Regions from separate parts of the Homo sapiens genome. Here all the other regions are linked to region 2. The links are contacts of gene promoters, found by promoter capture Hi-C in human tissues and cell types (Jung and others, 2019). All regions are on one chromosome and are shown on one strand. Each heading gives the region's core, a stretch centred on a gene start or on the middle of the fragment in contact. The rest is flanking DNA. Distances are from core to core; before and after follow the strand shown. Region 1 has its middle 33 kb from the start of CYP2C18. Region 2 holds the start of CYP2C18 (cytochrome P450 family 2 subfamily C member 18). Region 3 overlaps CYP2C18 (cytochrome P450 family 2 subfamily C member 18).

Evidence for each region. The method cuts DNA at HindIII sites, captures the fragments that hold promoters and counts their contacts. A contact is called where the count stands out against the background at its distance.
Region 1: a contact is called between a fragment that was not itself captured here and the fragment with the promoter of CYP2C18 in region 2, in 2 of the 25 tissues and cell types used here (liver and spleen).
Region 3: a contact is called between a fragment that was not itself captured here and the fragment with the promoter of CYP2C18 in region 2, in 3 of the 25 tissues and cell types used here (adrenal gland, liver and neural progenitor cells).

Annotation. Positions count from the first base shown.
Region 1 is chr10:94,648,196-94,652,791 of GRCh38, reverse strand. No RefSeq gene overlaps it. Among named protein-coding and RNA genes, the nearest start is that of CYP2C18, 33 kb to the left of the region's middle. The HindIII fragment of the contact is 3,187 bases long and covers 357-3,543 here.
Region 2 is chr10:94,680,506-94,685,365 of GRCh38, reverse strand. CYP2C18 (cytochrome P450 family 2 subfamily C member 18) reads right to left here and starts at 1,637. Exons shown (of 9, transcript NM_000772.3): 1 at 1,379-1,637. The coding sequence starts at 1,546. The HindIII fragment of the contact is 11,159 bases long and covers 1-4,860 here.
Region 3 is chr10:94,722,423-94,726,978 of GRCh38, reverse strand. CYP2C18 (cytochrome P450 family 2 subfamily C member 18) reads right to left here. Exons shown (of 9, transcript NM_000772.3): 7 at 2,446-2,633. Among named protein-coding and RNA genes, the nearest start is that of CYP2C19, 38 kb to the left of the region's middle. The HindIII fragment of the contact is 3,726 bases long and covers 670-4,395 here.

The DNA.
Region 1 (4,596 bases), core at 701-3,200, 33 kb after region 2:
ACTCTAGTAAAAGGCTGGAGGTCTCCTTGGGGAAGGATGGGAGAAAGATCAATAGCATAAATTGTTGATAGTGAAGTGGGGCCCTTCCTCAAGAAGACCCAGGCTTCCCTTCATTCAAGGGGTTCTGGGTCTGTAAACTGGCTCAAGTCTGGAAGTTGATTGAGGCGCCATGATTCTCTGTTTCATAATTCAAATTAGTCTTTTGTCCATTTGACCTGGAAGTTTTCTGCTTATATAAATTAAGCAGGAATGGAGAAGGCTTCCTATCAATTTCACATCTAGGAACCATGATTAATTAGCCAGTGCCAGAGTGCTACATGAGTCAGATTATTCTGATTGCTGTTTTGCTTCTGCTGTCCATTACAGTAACTACACCCACCTTGCCTTTGATGCTCGAGTGCCACAACTTAGCCCCTGCCACCTCAGAATCCAATTATTCCCATTGTATTTAACTTTTGTAGTTGAGTGACTGTGATTCTCACTGTTAGATATGACATACAGAGAATAGCAATTACAGGGCTCTTCAAAGAGGCAGGTGCTGCCCTCACAAATCTATTTCACAAAGCACTGGTCAAGGGTATATTTTCTGCACCCTCCCAGCTGGGATGAGTATGTCTAAAGTAACTAATCCACTCCACCATCCCAATCTCCCTAAGCCTGTGGATCCCTTCCTTTACATTAAAGCAAGGAAGATCAGGCATGTCCAGCTTGCTCACAATGGGCCATCTTTTAATCCATGTTTCAGCTAACCAAGCAAGTAAACTATTAAAACCTTTTTTAACTTCCTGAGCTGCAACATTAAAATCAGAATCTCTATTTAGTGGGCCCAAATCAATAAATTCAGCCTGATCCAACTCTATGTTTCTTTCACCATTATCCTACACCCTTAATATCCATTCCCATGACTGTTCTCCAGATTTCTGCTTATATAAATTTGAAAAGTCAAGCAGTTCTTTTCTATTGTAACACACCTCCTCATGGGCCACACTCTGAACCTGACTTCTAGGGGCCCACCAGAACTTTAGTCTAGTTATAGGTCTTGAAGCAAACAGGAGTGTTGGGGGTGGCTACTGAGGAGAATCAACATTATCTTGCCTCAGACAGCACAGGGTTTATCTACTCAGACAAAGGAGGAAAGGCTGATGGCAGCATGGGTCACAGAGCGGATGTTGCCACTACTGGGAACAGAAGCTGTTTCTTCTGGCAAAAAAGACTTATCAGAGTTTACAAGCTTAGTGTCCCCAGCTTCATCAGGGTCCTCCCACACATCCCCATTCCAAATTGCAGGGTCCCATTCTTTTCCAATCAATGCCCTCACTTTAACAGTAAACCCCTGGCAAGGCTGTTCATTCACCTTTCATTGCAGGTTAGCCACTTGTATAAGAGCTTGTGTCTTTTTTCCCACAATTTCAGCTCTTTCTCTACAGGAGATAAGATTCCCACTCAGGGCAATCTTAGCAGATTTGAGGCTCAGTATCCACTTCTGAAGCTGGGAGTTAGAATCCCTGAGTTCATCATTTTGTTTCATCACTTTATCCAGTGAACTTAGGAGCAACCAACCAACTTCATTATCTTCCTTGGTTCTCCACATGTAGTCAAAAGTATTATGTATAGAGTCACTAAACTCCTTGCATCTCACAAGCAGTGAATCAGGACTGTCAAATGCATCTATTTTGCATAACCCTCTAAACAGTTCACACCAAGGACTATCGGTGTTCTCCATACTATTAGAAGTAGAGTCGTTAGCATTTTTGGGTCAAATCATATTAGCAGTCAACTCCACAAACCCCAAAACCAATGAAAGAACTCCATGCTTAATATTCTGTTCATCTAGAACCACTCCTGGTACCAAAATCTGTATCAGTCAGGGCTCTCTAGAGGGACAGAACTAATATATATATAAATGGAGTTTATTAAGTAGTATTAACACACACGATCACAAGGTCCCACAATAGGCCATCTGCAAACTGAGGAGCAAGGAAGCCAGTCCAAGTCTCAAAGCTGAAAAACATGGAGTTCAATGTTCGAGGGCAGGAGGCATCCAGCACAGGAGAAAGATGTAGGCTAGGAGGCTAAGCCTTTTCACATTTTTTTTCCTGCTTTACATTCTGGCCTCACTGAGAGCTTATTAGATGGTGCCCACCCGGATTAAGGGTGGGTCTGCCTTTCCCAGCCCACTGACCCAAATGTTAATCTCCTTTGGCAACACCCTCATAGACATACCTAGGATCAATATTTTGCATCCTTCAATACGGTCAAGATTGGATTGTGTCTGAGTATCAGAATAGGGAGTGTCAACTTGATTGGATTGTGATTAACCATCACACCATCTGACAAAGGTCTGATATCCAGAGCCTACATGGAACTCAAACAAAATTACAAGAAAAAAAAAAACCCATTAAAAAGTCGGCAAAAGACATGAACAGACACTTCTCAAATGAAGACATTCATGAGGCCAACAAATATATGAAAAAAAGTCCAACATTCCTGATTATTAGAGAAACACAAATCAAAACCACAATGAGACACCATCTCACTCCAGTCAGAATGGTGATTATTAAAAAGTCAAGAAACAACAATTGCTGGCAAGATTGTGGAGAAAAGGAATGCTTTTATACTGTTGGTGGAAGTATAAGTTAGTTCAACCACTGTGGAAGACAGTGTGGTGATTCCTCAAAGACCTAGTGCCAGAAATACCATTTGACCCAGCAATCCCAGTACTGAGTATTTACCCAAAGGAACATAAATCATTCTATTATAAAAATACATGCACATGTATGTTCATTGCATCACTATTCACAATAGCAAAGATATGGAATCAACCCAAATGCCCATCAATGATAGGCTGGATAAGGAAAATGTGGCACAAATACACCATGGAATACTATGCAACCATAAAAAGGAATGAGATCATGTCCTTTGCAGGGACATGGATGGAGCTGGAAGCCGTTATCCTCAGCAAACTAATGCAAGAACAGAAAACCAAACACCACATTTCTCACTTATAAATGGAAGCTGAACAATGAGAACACATGAACACATTGCAGGGGAACAACACACAGTGAGGCCTGTTGGGAGGGGGCACAAGGAGGAGGGAGAGCATCTGGAAGAATAGCTAGTGGGTACTTAACAACAGGGTGATGGGTTGATCTGTGCTGCAAATAACCACAGCACACATTTACCTGTGTAACAAACTTAATCATTACGGAAATACAATTAAAATTACAATGAGATACTTCACACCTGTCATAATAGTTTTTATCAAAAAGATAAGAGATAACAAGTATTGGGGAGGATATAGAGGAAAGGAACCCTGTACACTGTTAGTAGGAATGTAAATTAGTATAGCCATTACGGAAAACAGTATGGAGCTTCCTCAAAAAACTAAAAACAGAATTACCATATGATCCAGCAGTCTGGGTATCCACTTCTGGGTATTTCTCCAAAAGAGCTGAAATCAATATGCCGAAGAGACAACTGCACCCAGTGTTCTTTACTAGCACTATTCACAATAGCCAAGTTATGGACTCATTCTAAGTGTCCATGTACAGATAGATTTTTTTGAGACAGGGTCTTGCTCTGTTACCCAGGCTGAAGTGCAGTGACACCATCATAGCTCACTGCAGCATTGACCTGCCTGGCTCAAGCAATCCTTCAGTCTTAGCCTCCCAAGTAGCTGGGACTACAGGTTGGGCCACCATGCCTGGCTTAGATTTTGTTAGTGTGGTATATACACACAATGCAATGCGATACTATTCAAACTTTAAAAAAGAAGGGAATTCTGTCATTTGTGACAACATGGATAGAATTGGAGAACATCATGCTAACTGAAATAAGTCAGGCACAGAAAGATAAATACTGAATGAACTCACTCATATGTGGAATCTAAAATGATTGAACTCGTAGAGACAGTAGAATGGTGGTTACAGAGGCTGGGGGATGGGAGGAATGGGGAGATAATAGTCAAAGGATACAAAATCTCAGACGGGAGGAATATCTTTTTTCATTTTTTGAGTTCTATTGCACAGCATAGTGAATAGTTCATAATAGAGTATCATACATTTCAAAATTGCTAAGAGAGTACATTTCAAGTGTTTATCATTAAAAATGCTAAGGATTTGAGGTGATGGGTATGTTAACCAGCTTCATTTAATTATTCTACATTGTTAATAAACTATAATTTCACTTTGTACCCCATAAATTTATACAATTGTAAATTGTCAACTTACAGTTAAAAGGTACATTTTCCTGTGCTAAATTTTATCTCAATAAAAAAGAAAGTAGGTGCTAGGTGGGCCAGCTCGGGCCAAGGTGGGGGTCTGACCCAGCAGGGCCTCACACCAGCGAGGTCGCTGGCGCCCCACACGTCTGCAGGGCCTGGCAGAGGAGAAGCCACAAGACCACAAGATATTGGGGTGGACCCCTAGCCTGCGACCAAGGCTTAGAGAAGCAGCAAGTACCTGGCAGGACTGTGTATGAGCCGCCTCCACTCCTAGTGATCGCAGATTTGGGGTGCTAAAGACCTGGAGTCATGGTGTTCCTGACCCCTCTAGTGGACTCTCAAGGAGGTCTGCTGATTATGCAATGGTAGCAGAG
Region 2 (4,860 bases), core at 388-2,887:
AAATAAATAATTCTATTTAAAACGAGCAAAGGGGTCAAGTGCAATGGCTCATGTCTGTAATTCCAGCACTTTGAGAGACAAAGGTGGGTGGATTGCTTGAGCCCAAGAGTTCAAGACCAGCCTGGACAACATAATGAGACCACATCTCTACAAAGCATTAAAAAATTATCCAGGCATGGTGGCATACACCTGTAGCCCCAGCTACTTGGGGGTCTAAGGTAGAAGGATGGCTTGAGCCCAGGAGCTCAAGGCTGCAGGGACCATGATCCCATCACTACACTCCATCCTACAACAGAGCAAAACCCTGTCTCTATTAATTAATTAATTAATTAATTAATTAAATGGGCAAAGGATTTGAGTAGACATTTTTCAAAAAAAGACATACAAATGGCCAAGATATATTTTTTAAATACTCAACAAATTTAATCATCAGAGAAATGCAAATTAAAACCACAATGAGATAACTCATCACAACTCATAGATAAGATATTATTATTATCAAAAAGATAAAAAGATAACAAGTGTTGACAAAGATGTGGAATAAAGTGAACCTTGGGTATGTAAATTAGCATTGTGATTTGAGAAAACAGTATGGATGTTCCTAAAAAAAACAAAAATAGAACTATCAGATGATCCAGCAATCCCACTACCAGTATATACCCAAAGGAATTGAAGTCAGTATGTGGAAGACATGTCTGTACTTCCATGTTTATTGCAGTGCTATTGACAATAGCCAAGATATGGAAACAACCTAAGTGTTCATCAATAAATTAATGGATTTTGTATGTGACATATATGTACAATGAAATGCTATTCAGCCTTTTAAAGAGGAAAAAATATTCTTATTTATGACGGCATGGATGAATCTACAGAACATCATATTAATTAAATAAGCCAGGCAGAGAGAGGCAAATATCATATATGATCTCACTTCTATGTGGAATCTTAAAAAGTTAAACTCAGAGAAGTAGAGATTAGAATGGTGGCTACCAGAGGCTGGCAGGTGGAGATGGGCCAAATAAGGGGATACGTTGGTCAACAGGTACAGAGTTACACTTAGATAGGAGGAATAAGCTCGGGTGTTCTATTGGACAGCAAGGTGACTATAATTAATATTAATGTACTGTATATTTCAAAACAGCTAAAAAAGAGGATTTTAAATGTTCTCACTACAAAGAAATGACAAATATTTGAGATGATGGATATGCTAATTACCCTGATATGATCAATTCACAATCTATACATGTATCAAAATGTAATATTGTACCCCATTAATATATACAATTATCATTTATCACTTTAAAATGAAATAAAACTTTAAGAATTGTGAGGTTAAATACACCTTGTACATTACTGGAGGAACATAAAGCATACTTACATTGGTTAAGGATTTGCTCATGTCCTTAACATCTAACTGCAGGATATTTCCAATAATCGGGAGAGGAGTGGGGCCAGACGGGAGCCTCCCTCTTCCAGAGCTCTGCCTCCAGAGTGAAAGGAGAAACAAACAGGAGAGACAGAGCACCAGAGCCACAGCTGGATCCATTGAAGGCTTCTCTTCTTAGTAAGACAACTGCGGGCTTTCACTTCAAGGCTTTTATAACACTCCCTACTAATCCACCTGTGATTCTGACTCTGACTGTGACTAGTCAGCAAAAAGCACTTTAATCTCTCTTTTGAATGAACATTGGCTCACTGAAGAAGATAAAAATAAGGTGTTCTTTTTTCTTGTTCTTTCCGGTGCCCCACCCTGGAGATTCTGGTTTAACTAGTCTGAAGCAGAGCCCAGGATTTTGTTGTTGTTGTTGTTGTTTTTCCTTGAGATGGAGTTTCGCTCTTGTTGCCCAGGCTGGAGTGCAATGGCAAGATCTCAACTCACTGCAGCCTCCACTTCCTGGATTCGAACGATTCTGCCTCAGCTTCTGGCGTGGCTGGGATTACAGGAATGCACAACTACGCCCAGGTGATTTTGTATTTTTAGCAGAGACAGGGTTTCACCATGTTGGCCAGGCTGGTCTCCCTAAGTGCTGGGATTACAGGCATGAGCCACCGTGCCTGGCTAGGCCTAGGTTTTTTCAAACAGCCCAGGTGGTTCCACTGTGCAGCCAAAATTGAGAAACAATGAAATAAATTATTTCATCAAAAAATTATTCAAAATTTTGGATTTTTAGATTGATGAGCAGTTGGAAATATGACTTTGAGGGCAATCTGTGTATTATATTCCTTGTACATAAAATAATGTTTATCCTATTGAGAGGAGTTAGCCAGCTTGCATTAGGCAGGCAGTAAGGGAAGGGTCCCCAGAGAACCTCCAACCCTTCCAGGTCATTGCCCAATCCACAAAAACCCCAAGTACTTACACTAGATGTTTTGTGCAGATAAGGGAACTTGCACAGGGAGCTTGCCTAAATATGCCCACAGTGAAAAATTCCTACCTTTAACACATGCGCAGGAAGGGAAATAAATCAATATGGAGTGGCTTAGACTAAGAGCCCACACGCGCAATGGAAGGAAGGGGTGGAAACACCAGGAATTCACGCCTTATGCAAATAAGTATCCCAGCCTCATCAGCTTTTCTATAAAAGTCCTGGTATTCAACTGTGAAGTGGCAATCTGCAACCTGCTTTCAGGGCCTCTCTCTTTGCTGAGAGTTTTCCTTTCACTTAATAAATTCTACTCCACTCACTCTCCAGTGTCTGTGTGCCTAATTCTTCCTGCATAAGACAACTCGGACCTAGCTGAGCTAAGGATCTGCAAGACTGCAACACTATAATGCTTTCTCAAACACTAGATCATTTTCCTTGAAAATGAGATCCTTTTGAAATATTTTAATGTAGTACTAACATTACAGCTGCCTAAACATAAAGCAGCTAACAAACTCATTCATCTTAAATGGCTAAACCGGTTATCAATTAACTAAGTAAACATACACACCTTTTTCCATTAAACCCCGTGAAAAACACTGGACGGCTGAGAATATTATTTCATATTTTCCAAATGGGGAAAGGGAGACTCTAGGAGAACAGATGACCTGTCCAGTGTCCCACAGCTCATAAATGGCAGGCTGGGATTTGAACTGAGATCTTCTGACGCCCGCTGTGGTATATTCTCACTTACACCAGAGCTGCCTTGAGAACAGTTTTAGCAAAATAAAATAAATCCTAAAAACATTTCTCACTCTGAATCTACACCACACTGTTCACAAAATAACAGGGTTGTACATTCTCAAGAGAAGAAATAAAAGCTAGGGTTTCTCCCCTCTCTGTCACTGAAGAGCTGAAACCTACTCAGTATAACTGAGGAAAGAGCCAATCTCAGAGAATTAAGTGGGTAAGATCTCAGAAACTATGGCTTCTCCAGCTCCCACTTGCCTCCAGACACTGCTGTTTCTATTGCTTTTTTGGTCTGTGTCAGAAATAATGGAATGAAATATTGCACAGCAAGGAAGGGGAATTATAGGCAGAACAACAGGCATGTGCTTCAGTGGTGAATGGGAGGTAGGGAAATCATTAAACAGACCCATGGCACAGAACAAACACAGTTGTGCAGACCTGAACTGGAGATGACATTTAGCGCTCATGAGGCTCTATATATCACTAAAATGATACATACATTTCTAGATCACTAATGGCAATGCTTGTACAAAGGCATATTCTGTAAAGATGTCATTGTGGTATTCTAAATGACTAGTACAGTTATTTGTTTATTTCCATTGTATATATTTAAGGTATACAACATTGGTAGACATATAAACAGTGGAATCATTACTATGGTTAAACAAATTTACATATTAATCAATTCTATAATTAACTTCTTTTTTGTGGTATAAGCACCTAAAATCTACTCTTTTAGCAAATTTTCAGTATAGTATATTAACTATAGTCCTCTTGCTGTTTATTAGATCTTTAGACTTATTCATCCTATCTAACCACAAATTTGGCTCTTTGACACACTTTTTTCCATTTCCTCTGGCTCCCACTTTTGGTAACCACCATTCTACTCTCTGTTTCTATGTATTTGACTTTTTAAAGATTCTTCATATAAGTGAAATCATGCAATCTTTTTTCCTCTGTATCTAGCTCATATCACTTAGCATAATATCCTTCAGGTTCATTCCATGTCATTGCAAATGGCAGTATCTCCTTTTAAAGTTTAAAAAATATTTCATTGTGTATATAAATATAAAACACAATTTCTTCATCCATTTATTTGTGAATGAACACTTAGATTGTTTCTACATCCTGGCTATTGGAAATAATACTGGATTAGTGCAGTTATTTCTAACTGCAGTAAGGAAAAATTAAGTTTTGTCAAATCCCATATGGACAATGTTTTATCAAACATGTTTACAGGGATTCTGACAATTCACAGAGAATTTTTATACCCATCATAACTCTTTTGATTCTCTCAATTACCCTTGCCTGTGGTAAAATTATTTCCACTTTAGAGGTAAGGAAGCTGGGCCTTGGAGATTCAGTATTTTGTTCAAGGACACAGAGGCTGAAAATGATAGGGCTGAGGCTGGAAACCTATCTCCTAACTCTGACATCATTCCCTCCAAGCAAGAAATTCAGTTCAACTAGAGTCACCAACATTTACTTACCATGTACTATGAGGCAATATTTCACTACTCAGGATAATCAGTGACTTTCAAATACACATTAACCAACTCAACAGTTGCAACATAGGTTGATTACAATTAGGGTGTGGTTTTGTAACCTTTAGAATTTGAGTCAGTCGAGGTTTTGGTGAATAATTTATCTGAGACAAAGAAAAATAGTTATTTTACTGCTTGGCTCACATAGCTCTGAACTCTAAAAGAAGTGCACTACCTTCTTTTAGATAAAATGATCTCAATGC
Region 3 (4,556 bases), core at 1,283-3,782, 41 kb before region 2:
ATGGCACAATACAGACATTCAGAATTCCCTCTTCCCTATAAGATGGCAATAGTGATTTCAACCTTATCAAACTCCAATCCTTTTTCCTCTCAAAGTTAAATTTTCATTATTTTATTTCTTTATAATGGCAATATGTACTCGCTTCAAGTGGAATGGAGCAGCTTGCAGAATAGCAACTAAAAAGTCTCAATAAACACAGAAACCATGTGTTAGAAGGCACTGGAAAAGATGTTGAGACAAAAATTACTCAGGCTTGCAGGCATGGGGGAACTCAGAGAGGTTACAGTCAATTTTTGATGGCTACAGTCAATTTTTGACTGTGTTTCGTATGTTTATTGTGGCACTATTCACAATAGCAAAGACTTGGAACCAACCCAAATGTCCATCAATGATAGACTAGATTAAGAAAATATGACACATATACACCATGGAATACTATGCAACCATAAAAAATGATGACTTCATGTCCTTTGCAGGGACATTGATGAAGCTGGAAACCATCATTCTCAGCAAACTATCACAAGATCAGAAAACCAAACACCGCATGTTCTCACTTATAAGTGGGAGTTGAACAATAAGGACACAGGGAGGGTAACATCACACACCAGGGCCTGTGGGGGATGTTGGGGCTAGGGGAGGGATAACATTAGGAGAAATACCTAATGTAGGTGACAGGTTGATGGGTGCAGCGAACCACCATGGCACGTGTATACCTATGTAACAAAACTGCACATTCTGCACATGTATCCCAGAACTTAAAGTATAATAAAAAAAAAATTGAAAAAAAATTTTTTTTGACTGTGTTGATATCTAATTCTGAATGAAGGTAGAAGGTGTTGCATAATTCTGTCTGCCTAGCATGGGAGGGATGAACCCTTTCTGGAAGAAGATGAACCTCATCTGACATTCTGCATTTTTTCATACATCATAACTGGCACTTAACCAAAATTTATGAGTCACTCCAAAGACAGAACTAAGTGAGCACAAAAAGAATAGAGAAGGGAGAAAAGATTATAAAAACAACCACAATACAGAACATTATCTTCCTTATTTTATGAAGCCAACATTTCCTCAATATCAGAAATCTGACAAGAAAATTTTGAGGAAGAAAAATTGCAAACCAATGTCTCTTGTAAATATAAGTTCAAACATCCTGAAAATCATAGCAAATAAAACCCAGCTGTGTATGTCTCTGTGTGCACATTTGTGTGTATTTTAACTAATATATATATTATATCTATAGACAGGACAAAATATATGGCCATATCGATTGATGCAGAGACTCCATTTGATCAAATTGTATACACATTCAAGACCAAAAAAAGTCATCAAAAGTAGAAGGCAACCTTCTCTAATCTGATTTTTTACTTATGAAAATATACATAAAACATCATTCTCACTGGTGAGATGTTAAATCTCCACCCATCCTGAACATCATATATGAAACAAGGATGCCCACCATCATGATTTATTCAACGCTGTCCTGGAAATCCTAACCAGTGAAATAAAACAATAAAGAGAAAACTGAGTTATAAGAATTGAAAAATAAGAAATAAAATAAATATTAAAAGAGAACACAGAATACATAGAAATTACAAATAAATTTACAAACAAAAAATTAGCAATGCCAAGTAAATTTGCTTGATGTAAGGTCATCAAAATAATAAAGTCAATTATATTTCCATGTACCAGAAACAAAGAAATGGAAAAGGCATTTTTTTTAAAGTATATTATTTAAAAGCCAGGTGCAGTGGCACACATCTCTAATCCCAGCTACTCAGGAGGAAGAGGTGGAGGATTGCTTGAGCCCAGAAGATCAATCTGTGCAACATAGCAAGACTCTGTTTTGAAAATATATTTTTAATATTATATATATTTATTTCATATTATATATATTTTATATTATATATTAAATACACAACTTACAATTACATAGAAATATCATTTCAGAAAAAAAACGTAATACATGAGAAAGCCACTGAACTGAAGACAAAACATTACTGACACAATAGAAGAAAGCCCAAATAAATAAAGAGCATAATCATATCCATGAATTGAAAGATTCAACCTGTCAGGACATCAATTATTTCTAAATTGATCTAAAGATTTAATGTCATCATGATAAAAATCCCAGCACAGTGTTTTGGGAAATTGACAAAATGATACTTTCAACACTTACTTGGAAATGTAAACAACCTGAGAATAGCCACAAAAAAAAAATACTAAAGAAGCAGAACAAATTTGGAAGACATACACTGCTAGATACTGAGACCTGTTATAAACCTTCATAGGCCCAAACTGGAATGGAAACAGCAGAGTCCAGAAAGCTGCCCCACGTATGAATTTTACACTTCTCTCATCATGTGTTGTTAGAGGATTGGGACTATACTATGAATTTGGGGACTTGAAGAGCATGGAGATGTAGTGTAGGAGAAACAAGCTTACCTTGGGGATGAGGTAGTTTTTGAATTTAACATCACAGGTCACTGCATGGGGCAGGTTGGTGGGGAGGAGGTCAATGTATCTCTGGATCTCGTGCACCACAGCATCTGTGTAGGGCATGTGACTCCTGTCCTGCATACAGGGGCTCCGGTTTCTGCCAACTACACATTCAATCTCTTCCTGGACTTTAGCTGATAAGACACAAGTAAGAAATGATGGAAAAGGAGGAAAATGGCACATTTGTTGTAGCAATTCAGGTTACAAGAAGCATAAGGAAGGGGTCCCAACATCATTATAAACTTATAGGACTGAAAGTACACCTAGACTTAGGGAAGAAATTACTACATTATAGATACATCCAACTCTCCTACAAGCTAAGTATTAAGATAAATCTGTAACCACCTACATATTAGCATACAAGATAATCAGTACAAATATAAATGATAAAATACTTCAAAATATAAATATTTAGTACATTATAAACTCAAGAAATTACTGTTCTTGAAGAAAGAAAAAAATCAAATTAATGTTGTATCAGAATAACATATAATGTTTTAAAACTTTAATTCTACTAACAGATCTATATGTATGGATGGATTTGTGTATTGTGTGCATATGTTTATTTGAAACTTGAAATGATATTCTCTCTCATCCTCACACTCCACAAAGGTGACTATGTTGAAACATTCTAGAAGTTTCTTCTGAAGTTTATATTCATATTTCTAAATACTGACTCTCTTTTTATTTTTTAATTTATCTTTGAAAATTTCTAAAACCTCATGGTAAGAAAGATGAGGACTTATATCTCCATCATCACCCCATAACAAATAGACACACACCCACAAACAGAAACATGCACACACATTCACACTTCCCCCACTCTAGTTTCCCCAATGTATTTATATCACATTTTTATTATATTAATACTCATGTTCACACCATTATTATTTCATAAACATTGACCACAAGTGGGACAGCTGTAATTATGTCTCTTTTTTGTATATTCTTGGACTTGTGTGTCCATTTCAATTCTAATTTTCATATGCCAATTTAGAATTACTGCAAATGCTCAGAAATGTTTCAAACTCTTACTAATAATTTTCTAAACACTAAAAATAATCAAATAATCAATCAACTTTTCTTTGCCCTTAATGTCTTCCCTCACACCTCCATGATCCACCTGGTCCATTCTAAAGCATTTGTTTTCTAGACCTGGTATCCAGCAGCCTCCCTGACACTTCCATCCTCCTACATGAGATCTCCTGATCCCTGCAGCCCATGATTTCCCCTGAATTGGTTTCAGACATTTGGATGGAAAATATTCTCTAGTATCTTTCTAAGAAAATAAACACAAAGGGCAAAAATTTTTTGCCAAATGCAGATCTGAAAATATTCTTTATCTACAAATACACAAGATGACAGCTGCTCTTGAGAATTCTAATGCCATTCTGATTCCTGATCCTTCACAGGTGACCTAATTTATCTCTGAATGTTTTTATGACTTTCCCTTTAACTCTGATGTTCTAAAATTCCCCATGGTCTGGTGTCTTGGATGAATATTTTCCATTTCATTCACTTTGCTGGACATTTGGTAAGAATTTTCTATCTAAATGGTGAAAAATGGAGGTCTTTCCACTGGTGCTACTTGTCCTCTGGAGTTTACACCTGGCTGCTGTATTTTAGGAACAAGATAGAAAAAGGCGCTAAAGGCCTTAGAATTCAAGTGGACTCTTACTTAACCCCTCACTCTTTCCCAGTCTCTGTCTGTTGTCCATGAGTGAGCCTCTTAGGTTCAGTTTCTCTAGAGAGTGAACCTCCCTTTTCTGTGGAGAAAAACAATTAGTTGACAAATGGAGTTGTGGAGGGAAACTAGGCAGGGAGAATTTTCTGTTTTCTGCCTCATTCTCCCTCTATGTTCTTTGGGTCTTGGTTCTTTTGAATACTCAGCCTTATGGGGACTATAGCAACAGAAATTCTTATGACCCTTAGGTTGCAACTTCAATCTCTCTGCCAAATTGGTTATCATCCTTCTATCTGCTCTCTGTGTCTGAGAAGTTTGTTAAAGACTTGATGGTTATACTCCAACTTTAACAGGAGTAATTCTCATTTGTAAT